Regions from separate parts of the Homo sapiens genome. Here regions 1, 2 and 3 are each linked to region 4. Evidence: promoter capture Hi-C in 16 types of primary human blood cells and fetal thymus (Javierre and others, 2016). All regions are on one chromosome and are shown on one strand. Each heading gives the region's core, a stretch centred on a gene start or on the middle of the fragment in contact. The rest is flanking DNA. Distances are from core to core; before and after follow the strand shown. Region 1 overlaps CRTC3-AS1 (CRTC3 antisense RNA 1). Region 2 holds the start of BLM (BLM RecQ like helicase). Region 3 overlaps CRTC3-AS1 (CRTC3 antisense RNA 1). Region 4 holds the start of MAN2A2 (mannosidase alpha class 2A member 2).

Region 1 (2,967 bases), core at 215-2,714, 200 kb after region 4:
TCAGGGAGCCCAGTGGGAGAATAGAGCTGGACTCAGCATCTAACATTCAATAGCAGTAGTCACTTAAACCCTTATTTTTGGTACAGTACTCACATCCTCAACTATGCCTGGTTTCCTCAGTCCACAGACCTTTATTTTACCATCTGTAGGTACTAATGCCTCTTCTTGGAGACAAGGGAGGGGCAGTTGCTAATAAGTATGGAGTGGGTGAGGGGATCTCAGGATCTAGCTGCATCTCAAACTGCTTTCACCCAGTTCTCATTATTTTGGACCTCCTTTCACTCCCAATTCCAGAGATGCCTGGGTTCTGTCAGTTTCTGTGCCTTTTTAGGATACTGTGATGGTTAATATGTGTCAAATTGACTGGGCCAAGTGCCCAGATATTTGGACAAACATTATTCTGGGTGTTTCTGTGAGGGTGTTTTTGGATGAAATTAGCATTTAGGTGGGATCTGGTGGTTCATGCCTGTAATCCCAGCATTTTGGGAGGCCATGGTGGGAGGATTACTTGAGGCCCGGGTTTTGAGACCAACCTGGGCAACACTGCAAGACCCTGTCTCTACAAAAACAAAATAAAAAAGAAATTCGCATTTAAATCAGTAGACTTGAGTGAAGTCAATTGCTCTCTGTCTCGGTCTGCTCAGCCTACTATAATAAAATACCATACACATGCTGGTTAAACAACAGAAACATTTCTCACAGTTCTGGGGGCTGGAACGTCCAAGGTCAAGGTGCTAGGCAGTTTACCTTCTGGTGAGGAGCCTCTTGCTGGCTTGCAGATGGCTGCCTTCTCACTGTGTCTTCCTCACGTGGTGCAGAGAGAGATCTCTTGTGTCTCTTCTTACAAAGCCACTAATCCCATAATGAGGGCTCCCATATGCCCTTGTTGCTCCCAAAGGCCCCATCTCCAAATACCATCACCCTGAGGGTTAGGGCTTTAATGTGATTTGGGGGGGACACAAGTGTTCAGTTCATAACATTCCCCATAGTGTGGGTGGTCTCATCCAGTTAGTTGGAGGCCTGAATAAAGACTGACCTTTTGCCCCAGCAAGAGGTATTTTACAGCTGACTTACTTGGTCTGCTGAAAAATACCTCTTCATCCACACTACAGATTTTGGATTTACCAGCCAAATAATCATGCGAGCCAATTCCTTTTCTCTCTCACTGTCTTTGTCTTTTTCTTTCTGTCTCTCCTACATATGCGCTCGCACACACACACGCGCACACACACACACACACGCACACCCCTTATTGCCTCCTATTGTTTCTCTGGAGAACCCTGCCCACTACTGGCCCAAGAATGGTTCCTTCTTAGGTCAGCTAAGACAGTCACCACTCTTCTGCTTTCTAGGTTCCAAAAGCTTGCTGCTGTTGTCTCTCTCTCTCTTTTTGTTTGTTTGTTTGTTTGTTTTTCTTTTTTGAGACAGGGTTTTGTTCTGCCTGCCAGGCTGGCGTGCAGTGGCATCATCTTGGCTCACGGCAACCTCCGTCTCCCAGGCTCAAGTGATCCTCCCATCTTAGCCTCCCGAGTAGCTGGGACCACAGGCATGTGCCACCAAGCTTGGCTAATCTTTTTTTCTTTTTCTTTTTTTTTTGTTTTTGTTTGTTTGTTTTTGAGACAGTCTCCCTCTGTGGCCCAGCCTGGAGTGCAGTGGTGCAATCTCGGATCATTGCAACCTCTGCCTCCCAGGTTCAAGCAATTTTCCTGTCTCAGCCTTCCAAGTAGCTGGGATTATAAGTGTGTGCCACCATGCCTGGCTACTTTTTTTTTGGCATTTTTAGTAGAGACAAGGTTTCAACGTGTTGGCCAGGCCGGTTTGAACTCCTGGGCTCAAGTGATCCACCCGGTTTGGCCTTCCAAAGTGCAGGGATTATAGGCGTGAGCCACCACGCCTGACCTGCTGTCATCTGTTCTGTTCTCATTGTTGTAGACTTATTGTAGTTTTTACTATATATACAGTCACTTTACTATAGTAGGTTTTTGGGGGAATGGATCTAGATGTGCATGTTTAATCTGCAATTTCAGCCCAGAGCTCCTGGACTTCCTAATTCTTAAGAGTGATTTAAATAACAGAACGTTTCCTGGAAATTGTGTTCTTATGCAATATGTTAGCAGCCTTCTGTTGGTCTCCCCCTCATTAAAGGGCCTCAAAAGAGATTTCTTCTTTTTTTTTTTTGGCAGGGCCTTGCTCTGTTACCCATGCTGGAGTACAGTGATGCCATTATGGCTCACTGCAGTCTTGACCTCCAGGGCTCAAGCCATCCTCCCACCTCAGCCTCCTGAGTAGCTGGGACTACAGACATGCAACACCATGCCCAGCTAATGTTTAATTATTTTTTAATAGAGACCCAGTCTCATTTTGTCGCCCAGGCTGGTCCTGAACTCTTGGGCTCAAGCAATCTTCCCACCTCCCAAAATGCTGGTATCACAGGCTTGAGCCACCATACCCTGCCCTCAAAAGAGAGAAATTAATTAATTAATGTATTTATTTTTGAGACAGAGTCTCACTCTGTCGCCCAGGCTGGAGTACAGTGGTGTATCTTGGCTCACTGCAACCTCTGCCTCCTGGGTTCAAGCAATTCTGCTGCTTCAGCCTCCTGAGTAGCTGGGATTACAAGTGCACGCCACCATGCTCAGCTAATTTTTGTATTTTTAGTAGACACTGGGTTTCTCCATGTTGGCCAGGCTAGTCTTGAACTCCTGACCTCAAGTCATTCACCCACTTCGGCCTCCCAAAGTGCTGGGCTACATGCGTGAGCCACTGTGGCTGGCCAAAAGAGATTTCTTAATCTACCTTCCTTCTTGTGTACAAAAGGGCCACAAAGCTATTAAAATAAATCATAATTATGTCTGTTCCAAGTCCATTACTTGAACATGACAAATCAGTAAGAGACACTCATTTTCTTCTAGAGAAGTAGGTATCTTCAAGGGCCCTGGGCTCACCACAAGTTCACAAATGCATAGC
Region 2 (3,168 bases), core at 168-2,667, 180 kb after region 4:
CTTTTCTTAAAAGACTATGGCTTCCCAGATTAAGGAAAAACAGGCAAATGATAGAGAAGCTTTTCAAAGAACACTGAATTGGATATTGAAGGACAAGTGGAACTTTACAGACAGGACTGAGGTTGTGAAGAAGAGTAGTCTATGAACTAGTGGTACAAAGGCTGAGGTAGAATAGTATGTGTTAGCGATACAGAATGCTCAAAAGCCTCTGGTATCATGCCAAGGAGTTTAGATTTTATCCTACAGGTAGTGGAGACCCTTAGGGGCTTTCAGCACTGAAGTCCTAGGATTATTCTACGATTATCTTGGACCTCTTTATTCTATCCATTTTTCTCTTAGAAAAAAACACATATATATGTAAATTAAAATATATATGTATATCTTTTAATTTTTAATATTTCTTACATAAAGATACAGAAAATAGAATTACACCCATGTACCCACCAACCAAATTTAAAAAGTTAAACTCGGCCCTATTCTCTCTCTTTTAAAGGCATAAAACATTTCAGGTAGATTGACTGACGGACTCTCACTCTGTCACCCAGGCTGGAGTGCAGTGGTGCAATCTTGACTAACTGCAGCCTCCTGGGTTCAAGCGATTCTCGTGCCTCAGCCTCCCCAGTAGCTAGAACCACAGGCGCACACCACCACGCCCAGATAATTTTGTATTTACTATAGAGAGGGAGTTTCGCCATGTTGGTGAGGCAAGTCTCGAACTCCTGGCCTCAGGTGATTCGCCCGCCTCATCCTCCCAAAGTGCTGGGATTATGGGTGTGAGCCACTGTGCCTGGCCTCATTTCAGATATATTTAAAATCTCACTCATGGCCGGGCGCGGTGGCTCGCCTGTAATCCCAGCACCTTGGGAGGCGGAGGCAGGCGGATCACGAGGTCAGGAGATCGAGACCATCCTGGCTAACACAGTGAAACCCCGTCTCTACTAAAAATACAAAAAATTAGCTGGGCGTGGTGGTGGGTGCCTGTAGTCCCAGCTATTTGGGAGGCTGAGGCAGGAGAATGGCATGAACCCGGGAGGCGGAGCTTGCAGTGAGCCAAGATCGCGCCACTGCACTCCAGCCTGGGCGACAGAGCGAGACTCCATCCCCCAAAAACAAAAACAAAAACAAACTCACTCATTCCAGGAATGACTATGAAAAAGGAAAAAACAGATAAAAATTTAAAAATCAAAACAATAAACTATCACTCATTCCCCTTACCTTTTTCCCTTCCCTTCCTGCTCATAGGTAATACCACCTGTCCTGAAGCGGATGTGTAGAACTTCCCAGCATGATGATGTTCTACTGCACATCTAACACTTTTCCTGATTTTTTAACTCTTGGTTTCCTCAGTAAAACGAAGGAAATAACTACTTCTCCAGGTTACTGATAGGACTGTAAACTATACTTATAAGGTACCTGTCATGGTGAGTGGCATTGAAAGTGACACAGGACCCAGAAATTTCATTTCTTCCCAGTAGATTATAAGCTACTGTCTGACAGTATAAGCAGCCCAGCTAACAAAATGTTGATTTAATTAATTCTATTTACTATTCCCCAAACAGAATACTTTTGCCTACCCGCTTCTTCATCTTCTGATCTCTCATGCAGTCTCTCGAATTCCTGTCCCTTAATCTTGACAGTGACACACCAGTGTTATTTATCTGCATGGGTGGCACAAGGAGCTGTCAGTCACCTGCTCCATCTCACGCCATGAGGTACCTAAAGTTCTGTGTGACCTAAGGACAGGTGAGGGCTATAGGAGAAAGCCTAATGTTGTGGGACATACTTTAAAATCAGGCGCTTAGTTCAAATCCTGTATCTCTAGCACTTAATCACCAAATGCTCTTTCTGTACGGAGACAACCTCTTTGTACTTCAGATTCTCCATGTCTAAAATGGGGACAATTTCATCCGCTTCTCTGGGTAATGATAACAGAACCCTTACTGTGTACTATGTAACAGGTAGCCTTCGAAGCATTTATTATTGCATATATTAAGTCGTTTAATCCTAACAAAAACGCCAGGAAGTAGAAGAGACCATTTCCCCCATATGACAGACGAAAACCAAGACACTTAGTGTTTCAGTAACGTGCAGTAGACACAGAGCTAAATGTGAAGGAGCCAGAATTCGAACCCAAGCAATCTGATGCAGTATTCTTAAGCACTTCGCTTTGCTGGGATATCGTAAAGCTACAGTTGTAAGATCAAGGGTGCCAGGAACATGGCACACAGTAGACACTCAAAAACAAGAGTAGCCCAGCTCGTGATTATGGAAGGCCACAGAAAAAGTACAAAGTGTTTTCGTTGTTCCTCAGGAGGGACACGGAGGTAGTAGTGCCAGAGGTCTGGGCTGGGATTACTCTGTGCAGGGCATCATGTTACGCACTGGAGTATATGGGCAACAACATGCCAGGTCCTAGCCCATGCTCGGCCTCCGACGCCCCGGGAGACCTTGGCAGAGTTCGCCCCCGCCCCGGGCCTCTGTTTCCCCATTTGGGAACGTATTTATGTATCTGCTGTCCTCCCAGGATGTTGGCCAGACTAGAGGACTCAGCGGGCCGAGGCGAACCAGTGCAGGAAACGGAAGAACCCGAGCGGCCTCCAGCTCCGGGCCGGGCCGCCAGAGCAGGGCTAGATCAATGCGGACCGACCCGTAGTTACGCGCGCGGTACTCACCTCGCACGCAGACTCCTAGCGGACGGAACCAGGATCCAAACTTCCCGCGCCGCAACCACGGCCGCCGCGCCAAGCCCTGGCTCACTTCCCGCCGGAAGCTTGCCTATTCCGATTGGCTGCTTCCTGGGGAAGCCGACCAATACTGTCGCACTCGGACATCTGTTCCCGCCCCCTCAGGCTGCTGGGGCGGGGTCGCCGTACAGCGCCGGGAGGGACGCGTATCTCCAAAGCCCAATCAGAGTCCGGACGGGAGGGTCAGATGACTACGGTTACATCTCGGGCTTCCGGAGCTAGTTGGGTCTTTGTTTTTGGTGTTTTAGAGTCGGTGAAGGCTTTAAAGGAAGTAGGCAGCTGGAACCCGGCTGTGGCGGGTTGAAAAGCCCGGGCGTTTGAGAGCTGAGACTTGCCAGTTCCCACAGGCCAAGCCAGGCGTCTGCACCCCATTCTCTTGGTTCCGACGGTGTGTCTCTGCGATGTTTTGGCGGTCTCTCCTCTC
Region 3 (3,258 bases), core at 151-2,650, 220 kb after region 4:
CAGCTCACTGCAACCTCTGTCTCCCAGGTTCAAGCAATTCTCCTGGTTCAGCCTCTGGAGTAGCTGGGATTACAGGCACGTGCCATCACACTCAGCCAATTTTTGTATTTTTAGTAGAGACAAGGTTTCACCATGTTGGCCAGGCTGGTCTTGAACTCCTGACCTCAGGTGATCCTCCCACCTCAGCCTCCCAAAGTTCTGGGATTACAAGTATGAGCCGCCGTGCCCAGCCAGTTCCATTTTCTCTATTGCTGAAGGTCCTAGTGGTCACTCGTCCAACCTCCACATTCCTCAATGGCCCACATCAGATGAGTCAGTTCCTTCATCAGTGATGGCAGTGATTGCAGGGAACGCTCAGCCTCCTTGGCTCTGATTCTGCCTTACCAGAAGGGAGCCCTTCTGACTTGACCTCGTGGGTGCCATCGAGTGTGGTTCCAGCTCCGCATGTTCCTGACTACTCCTGCACAAGTCTGGGAGGTGAGGGATGTGGGAGGCGCAGCTCTCAGAGCCTCTTACAGAAACAACCAGCCTGGTGCTGCGGTGGCAAGAAACAGACACTGACCCCCGACCCCAAGGGAAATTCACAAGAAGGCTATGGAGTCCCTCACAACATGGAAGGGGAAATTGAAGAGCCTGGTCTGGAAAAGACAGAAAACAGGGAGGCCGTGGGGACCTAGAAGCTGGAACCAACTGAGAGTCTCATCTGGCCACACTGTAAAGATGTGTCAGCCCCAACCTCTTCTTGGCTTTTGCTTCCTCCATTCAAGGGTCAGAGTCTGAGTGCCTAGGTGGGCCCAGAGCCTTCCCTCTCCAGCCTCCCTGCTGCCCCAGAGAGGACAAACACCATTTCTGACTCCCCTACATACTCAGAGTGCATTCTCAGGATCACAGTAGAGGAAGGACTGAGAAAATAAGTGCTCATGAGGCTGATGGGCTGCCTTAGCTTTATCAGCAGCAGAAGAATTCTGGGATGCTCACCTCCCAGAAGACCCTCCACAGTTCCCAAGAGCCTCTTCATCCATAATGAGGGTGACAAAACTTCTCTGAGTCACAGACAGCTTTGAGACTGGGATGGAAACAGAGGATTGCATAAGTTTCAGGGGGCTGCTGGACCCCCATTCCTGAATCCTAACTCTGGGACACCTTCTCCAGCCCGTGTCTGCCTGGCTTAGCTGCAGGCCTCATACACTGTCTCCCTAGGACCTGCAGTTGAACCATTCCATGCTCACGGACACGTGGATTACATGAGCAGGGCCCTAGGCCTCCTCCTAACCTCAGATTTTTTTTTTTTTTTTTCTAAAAGGGCAAGGCACTATTTTAGTCACTGTTTTGCAGGGAGAAAAAAATCCTGTTTATCCTTATGATTCATTTTGGTGGTTTTTGGATAATGTTGTATTGATTCATGACGACTCACTCAGCATCTGGTATGAATTAAATGAGACTTTCTCTTTTTGACAGTAAAATGAAAGATCTTAAACAACGCTAACATTAAAAAGAGGCCTGGAGGGAATACAAGAGTTGGAGCAATCCTGGGGACTTGAGTCAGTTCAGTGGGATGCCCTACCACCTTGGCAAAGCCAGCACAGTGCCATGCAGTTCCAGGGCAGTGCTGCTTGTGACCTTATGTCTGCTCCTCATGAGTACCACGATGACTCCTTGCAGGTCCCATTGCTTCCCACCATATGCTGTTTTATCTTGTAGTCATGATCCCAACTGGACAAATGGGGAAACAGAGGCAGGAAGCTGGCATGGATGTGACATCAGGAGTCAGATTTTCTCTGGTTTGTTCCAGGAAGTTTTCCGTAGAATCCCAGAGGACATCCAGTGATTCTTAACGGGGGATGATTTTGGCACCCCCAGGGGTATTGGGCAATGTCTGGAGGCATTTTGGTTGCCACAACTAGGGAGGTGCTACTGGCATCTACCTGCAGTGTCAGAACAGCCTCCAAAGAACAAAATGATCCAGCCCACATGTCAATAGTGCCGAAGTTGAGAAACCCTGCTCTAACCCAAAGGGACTCCAAATCCCAAGTGATGTGGTGGTTGTCAGGGCATTAGCAGACTTAATGCAAAGGCCTCTCAATATGGCAAAACAGATTGTCTGAAAAATTATGTAATTTTTGTGTTTAAAAAGAGTAGAACCTGGGCAACATAGCAAGACCTTGTCTACAAACATATTCAGGCTGAGAAAATGAAAAATAAAAAAAGACCCTGTCTTGGCCGGGTACGGTGGCTCACGCCTGTAATCCCAGCACTTTGGGAGACGGAGGCAGGTGGATCACAAGGTCAGGAGTTCAAGACCAGCCTGGCCAGTATGGTGAAACCCTGTCTCTACTAAAAATACAAAAATTAGCTGGGCGTGGTGGCACGTGCCTGTAGTCCCAGCTACTCAGGAGGCTGAGGCAGGAGAATCACTTGAACCTGAGAGGCGGAGGTTGCAATGAGCCGAGATCGTGCCACTGCACTCCAGCCTGGGCAACAGAGTGAGATCTGTCTCAAAACAAAAGACCCTGTCTTTACGAAAACAAACAAACAAACAACAACAAATATATATAGAGAGAGACAGAGAGAGAGTGTCAGGTATGGTGGTATGTGCCTGTGGTCCCAGCTGCTCAGGTGACTGAAGCTAGTGGATCCCTTGAGCCCAGGAGTTCAAGGCTGTTGTAAGTCGTGACTGCCATGCACTCCAGCCAAGGAGACAGTGAGATCCTGTCTCAAAAAAAAAAAAAAAAAAAAAAAGTATATATCTTGCCTAGATCATGGTCTCTGTATGTCATTCTCTGCTAAAAGAAACTAGGGCTCCTGCCAAATGGCCAGTCCAAGGTTGGGGCAGCTGAACAAGGAAGGTATCATCACTATGGAGTCTGATTAAAAGGACACAGGGGTTCATGTGAAAAGGCTCTCTCTGACCAAATACAGGATGATTTGAGCAACAAAAAGAACAATGCAAGTATGTTAAAATTCGTATTTGTAAGTTGAAAGAGGAGCTTGTGATCAAAAGATGAAAATGTTCCTTGGCCGGGCATGGTGGCTCACACCTGTAATCCCAGCACTTTGGGAGGCCGAGTCGGGTGGATCACCTGAGGTCAGGAGTTTGAGACCAGCCTGGCCAACATGGTGAAACCCCATCTCTACTAAAAAATACAAAAAATTAGCCAGGTGTGGTGGTGGATGCCTGTAATCCCAGCTACTCAGGAGGCTGAGGCAGGAGAATCGCTTGAACCTGGGAGGTGGAGGTTGCAGTGAGCCGAGATTGTG
Region 4 (3,256 bases), core at 708-3,207:
ATTTGGCTCTGCCAAAAAACCAGAAAGCAATCACACACAGCTCCTTATGCCACAGGGAGGGTCTCTGCTTGGGGTCTACCAGCTGAGGCCTGAGTACAATTCTTCCCTCATCAGTCAAAGCCAGACCATGAGCCTAGAGGGATAGATGACACCGTTCAGATAAAGGGAGCTGTGCAGATCACCACTGAGGACTACACTCCACTTGGGTTGGGAGAACCATCACTCTCTAGCTCAGGGATGGCAAAGATTTCCTTTCACCTACCTATTCTCAACAATCGGTGTTGCCTGTGCTGAGGATTTCAGCGGGGCTTAATGGCAAAGAATGCTGCAATCAATTAGCAATGTCTGCCAAGAATTCAGGAGGGGCTGGGCGCGGTGGCCCACACCTGTAATCCCAGCACTTTGGGAGGCCAAGGTGGGTGGATCACCTGAGGTCAGGAGTTCAAGACCAGCCTGGCCAACATGGCGATACCTCGTCTCGTCTCTACTAAAAATACAAAAATTAGTCGGGCATGGTGGCAGGCTCCTGTAGTCCCAGCTACTTGGGAGGCTGAGGCAGGAGAATTGCTTGAACCTGGGAGGCGGAGGTTGCAGTGAGCCAAGATCGCGCCACTGCACTCAAGGCTGGGCGACAGAGCGAGACTCTGTCTCAAAAAAAAAAAAAAGAAAGAAAAGAATTCAGGAGAACAGAGTGACAATACTCATTGCCATTGACATTTTTTCTTCCTTCCTTCTTTTCGCCATCACTGTTTTTAGCTGAGGGTTTCTACAAAACCTGACTATTGGGAAGGAAGGCTCCTGTCCTGTACTGACATTACCCTCCAGCGGGGGGTGGGAGGGGAGGCGGCGGGGTGGGAGGTGCATACCCTGAGCCCAGGTGACTTGTATACAAAGAAATTAGCAACCAGGCACGACTCACCCGGGGGAAGTTCCCACCATTCTGGTGTCGGGTGGGATCGTGTTGCACTCGGTCCAGCATGAGGTAGAGCGAGAAGACTGCCACACAGAAGATGGCAGCCCCACACACTGTCACCTGCTTTTTCAGCTTCATACTGGCCTCCACACACACCTGGCAGGAAGGACACCATCTGTAGCTCCAACATGCAAAATGCCCGTGGCAGTCTTTCCACCAAATACCCCAGTGAGTTCCTGAGGGCTGTTCCAAAGGAACACCCATTTGCCTGGCTCCAAGTAGCACAAGCAGCACATCTGAGGCTGGCCCACCTGGTCCTGGTAGCAGCTCTGCCGCTAGGGTGGAGAGGACGCTCTCCTTTGGCTGGTGCTATGAAAAACGGGCCCAGGATAAGAGTCCCAGCTCCGACTGGAGCGCACCACACAAGCTCCTGATTACACAGCTTCCCTGCCTAGATAGGAGGTGCCTGTTCAGGCTCCTCGGCCATGTGCTTCTAGTTTCAGGTGAATAAGCTAGTCTCTATTTTGTTTGATTTAAAAGTTTAGCCAGAACCCAAAGAGACTGATAGGAAAGCCTTTCTCAGTGCCCTTTCGGGTCAAACTGGCACTCACCAGAAACAGTGCCTGGCACGATCCTTTCTCAGAAACACAGAATGAGTTTCTTTCTAATAAAGAAGAAAGATGCTTGTGTTTCTAGCATAAAGCAAGCCCTGTGTGTTCTCCCTGTTTCTCTACTGTTCACTGCAGTGGGAAACTTCCAGCCGCGGTTTGCAGAGCACTTAGGGGACCCCTAGGAAGCCTGCAGTGACGCCGAAGGCCCCCTGGGAAGGGAGAGACGGGGCCCAGTGCTCAGCTGCGAGGCAACTTCAGGGGACCCGTGCCCCCCGCCGCCACCGCCCTCGGGCTCCGCTTGCCTGCTCAGGAGGAAGGAGGACGCTAACTGCGGAGCCGAGCGTGGGCGGGACCGCGCTCCGGAGTCTGCTCCGCGGGCCCTGGGGCCGAGGAGCTTTGTCGCCTCTGCGTTGTGCCCTACTTAGCGCGATCTGATTCTGCTCGGGAGCTTCCGGGCAATATTTTCAGCCCTTAGAGACTGGGTCTAGGCCAATGTGGGTGGAGCTGGGGAGAGAGTTGGATCACAGAGGGCAGGCACCTGCCGCCAGGTCTCTGGCCGCCCGCCCGGCTCCCTCCCCACCCGCTCCGACTTCGTCGGCCCCGGGGACCGCAGAGACAGGCGCCAGGTACGGGCCTCAGGCAGCCTCCTGTCCCTTCCTGGCCCCTCTGACGCCGCAGTGGCGCTCGCACTCCCGCCGCCCGAGCCCGGCCTCTGTCGGGGCAGCCGGAGCCCTCCCGCGCGCGCACCCGGCCCGTTACCGTCAGCGCCCGGCCTCCGCGCCGCTCCGGGCCCAGTCGGCCGAGCTGCCGGCTCTCACACGCCCGGGGACGGCGGCCCGCGTGCAGGCAGCGACGCAGGCGAAGGCGGGCGCCCGCCCACCCGTAGCCCCCTGCTCCGCGCGCCGCTGCCGCGCTCCCGCTGGGCCCCGGGCCGCCGGCGCGCTCCGCTGCGCCGGCCCCGCGCGGGTCCGCCAGCCTCTGAAGCTGCCGGGCCCAGCAGCGTGCGGGGCGGGGACAGCCGCGCCGCCCGCCCCGGCCTGCGTGTGCCCGGCGGAGCTGACAGGAGCTCTGGCCGCCGCGGTCCCCGCCCGGCTCCTCCCGGGCCCGCTCCGCTGGGCTGCAGTGCGCAGCCGCACCAGCCCGGGCCGGGCCTGGCCAGCTGCGGAACCTCAGGAGGGACGCGCGACTGAATTTTTTCGGAATCCTACTTGAGTAAGCGCATGATCGGGCAGTGGTCGAAACGCCCGCCTCCGTCTCGGCAGACGCGTAGCGGGGTGCGTTCTCCGCGGCCTCACCCGGCTCCGGCCCAGGTAGCCTTAGGTCTCTGTCGTTGCGCCCCTCGGGCAAAGGGGTGCTGCCTCCTGTCGGTACAGCGCATTCCTCGAGTCCCTTTCCTTTCCGTGCCTGCTCTATGTTTCCTGCCAGCGAGTGAACAAGACACAGACTTTTCTTGGCTGTTTCCCTTTTACTGGGCATCTAGGTTGTTTACAGTTTTTCAGTGTAATCCATACTGCAATGAACATCTCCATGAATTCCACATTTTTGTTCTTTTTAAGTTATATATAACATTATCTGAATGTGACCCCCCAAATTCATGTTCAAATCCTAATCCCTCAAGGTGATGATGGTATTAGGAGATGGGCCTTTGGGGGTGAACAGAGTTTGAAGGGAGAGCTCTCATGAATGGGATTAGTGCCGGTATCAAATGACCCCGAGAGTCGGCCCCTTCAAC

The links. Contacts are between HindIII fragments. The CHiCAGO score rates a contact against its expected background, and 5 or more counts as called.
Region 1: a contact is called between a fragment that was not itself captured here and the fragment with the promoter of MAN2A2 in region 4, in 11 of 17 cell types (M0 macrophages, M1 macrophages, endothelial precursors and 8 more). The highest score is 16.6, in M0 macrophages.
Region 2: a fragment that was not itself captured here is called in contact with the fragment with the promoter of MAN2A2 in region 4 in 1 of 17 cell types (M0 macrophages); the score reaches 5.8 in M0 macrophages.
Region 3: a contact is called between a fragment that was not itself captured here and the fragment with the promoter of MAN2A2 in region 4, in 4 of 17 cell types (M0 macrophages, endothelial precursors, erythroblasts and 1 more). The highest score is 7.7, in M0 macrophages.

What each region holds. Positions count from the first base shown.
Region 1 is chr15:90,700,370-90,703,336 of GRCh38, reverse strand. All of the region lies in intron 2 of CRTC3-AS1 (CRTC3 antisense RNA 1), which reads left to right. Among named protein-coding and RNA genes, the nearest start is that of CRTC3-AS1, 15 kb to the left of the region's middle. The HindIII fragment of the contact is 199 bases long and covers 1,365-1,563 here.
Region 2 is chr15:90,716,945-90,720,112 of GRCh38, reverse strand. BLM (BLM RecQ like helicase) reads right to left here and starts at 2,767. Exons shown (of 22, transcript NM_000057.4): 1 at 2,673-2,767. It overlaps CRTC3-AS1 (CRTC3 antisense RNA 1), which reads left to right and starts at 2,973. Exons shown (of 4, transcript NR_120372.1): 1 at 2,973-3,132. The HindIII fragment of the contact is 2,711 bases long and covers 62-2,772 here.
Region 3 is chr15:90,678,784-90,682,041 of GRCh38, reverse strand. The region is part of intron 2 of CRTC3-AS1 (CRTC3 antisense RNA 1); the gene reads left to right. Among named protein-coding and RNA genes, the nearest start is that of LINC01585, 20 kb to the right of the region's middle. The HindIII fragment of the contact is 4,674 bases long and covers 1-3,258 here.
Region 4 is chr15:90,902,003-90,905,258 of GRCh38, reverse strand. It overlaps MAN2A2 (mannosidase alpha class 2A member 2), which reads right to left and starts at 1,957. Exons shown (of 23, transcript NM_006122.4): 1 at 1,827-1,957; 2 at 920-1,069; 3 at 1-8. The coding sequence starts at 1,051. RefSeq lists enhancers at 967-1,026, 2,867-2,916 and silencers at 1,977-2,406, 2,427-2,696. The HindIII fragment of the contact is 23,300 bases long and covers 1-3,256 here.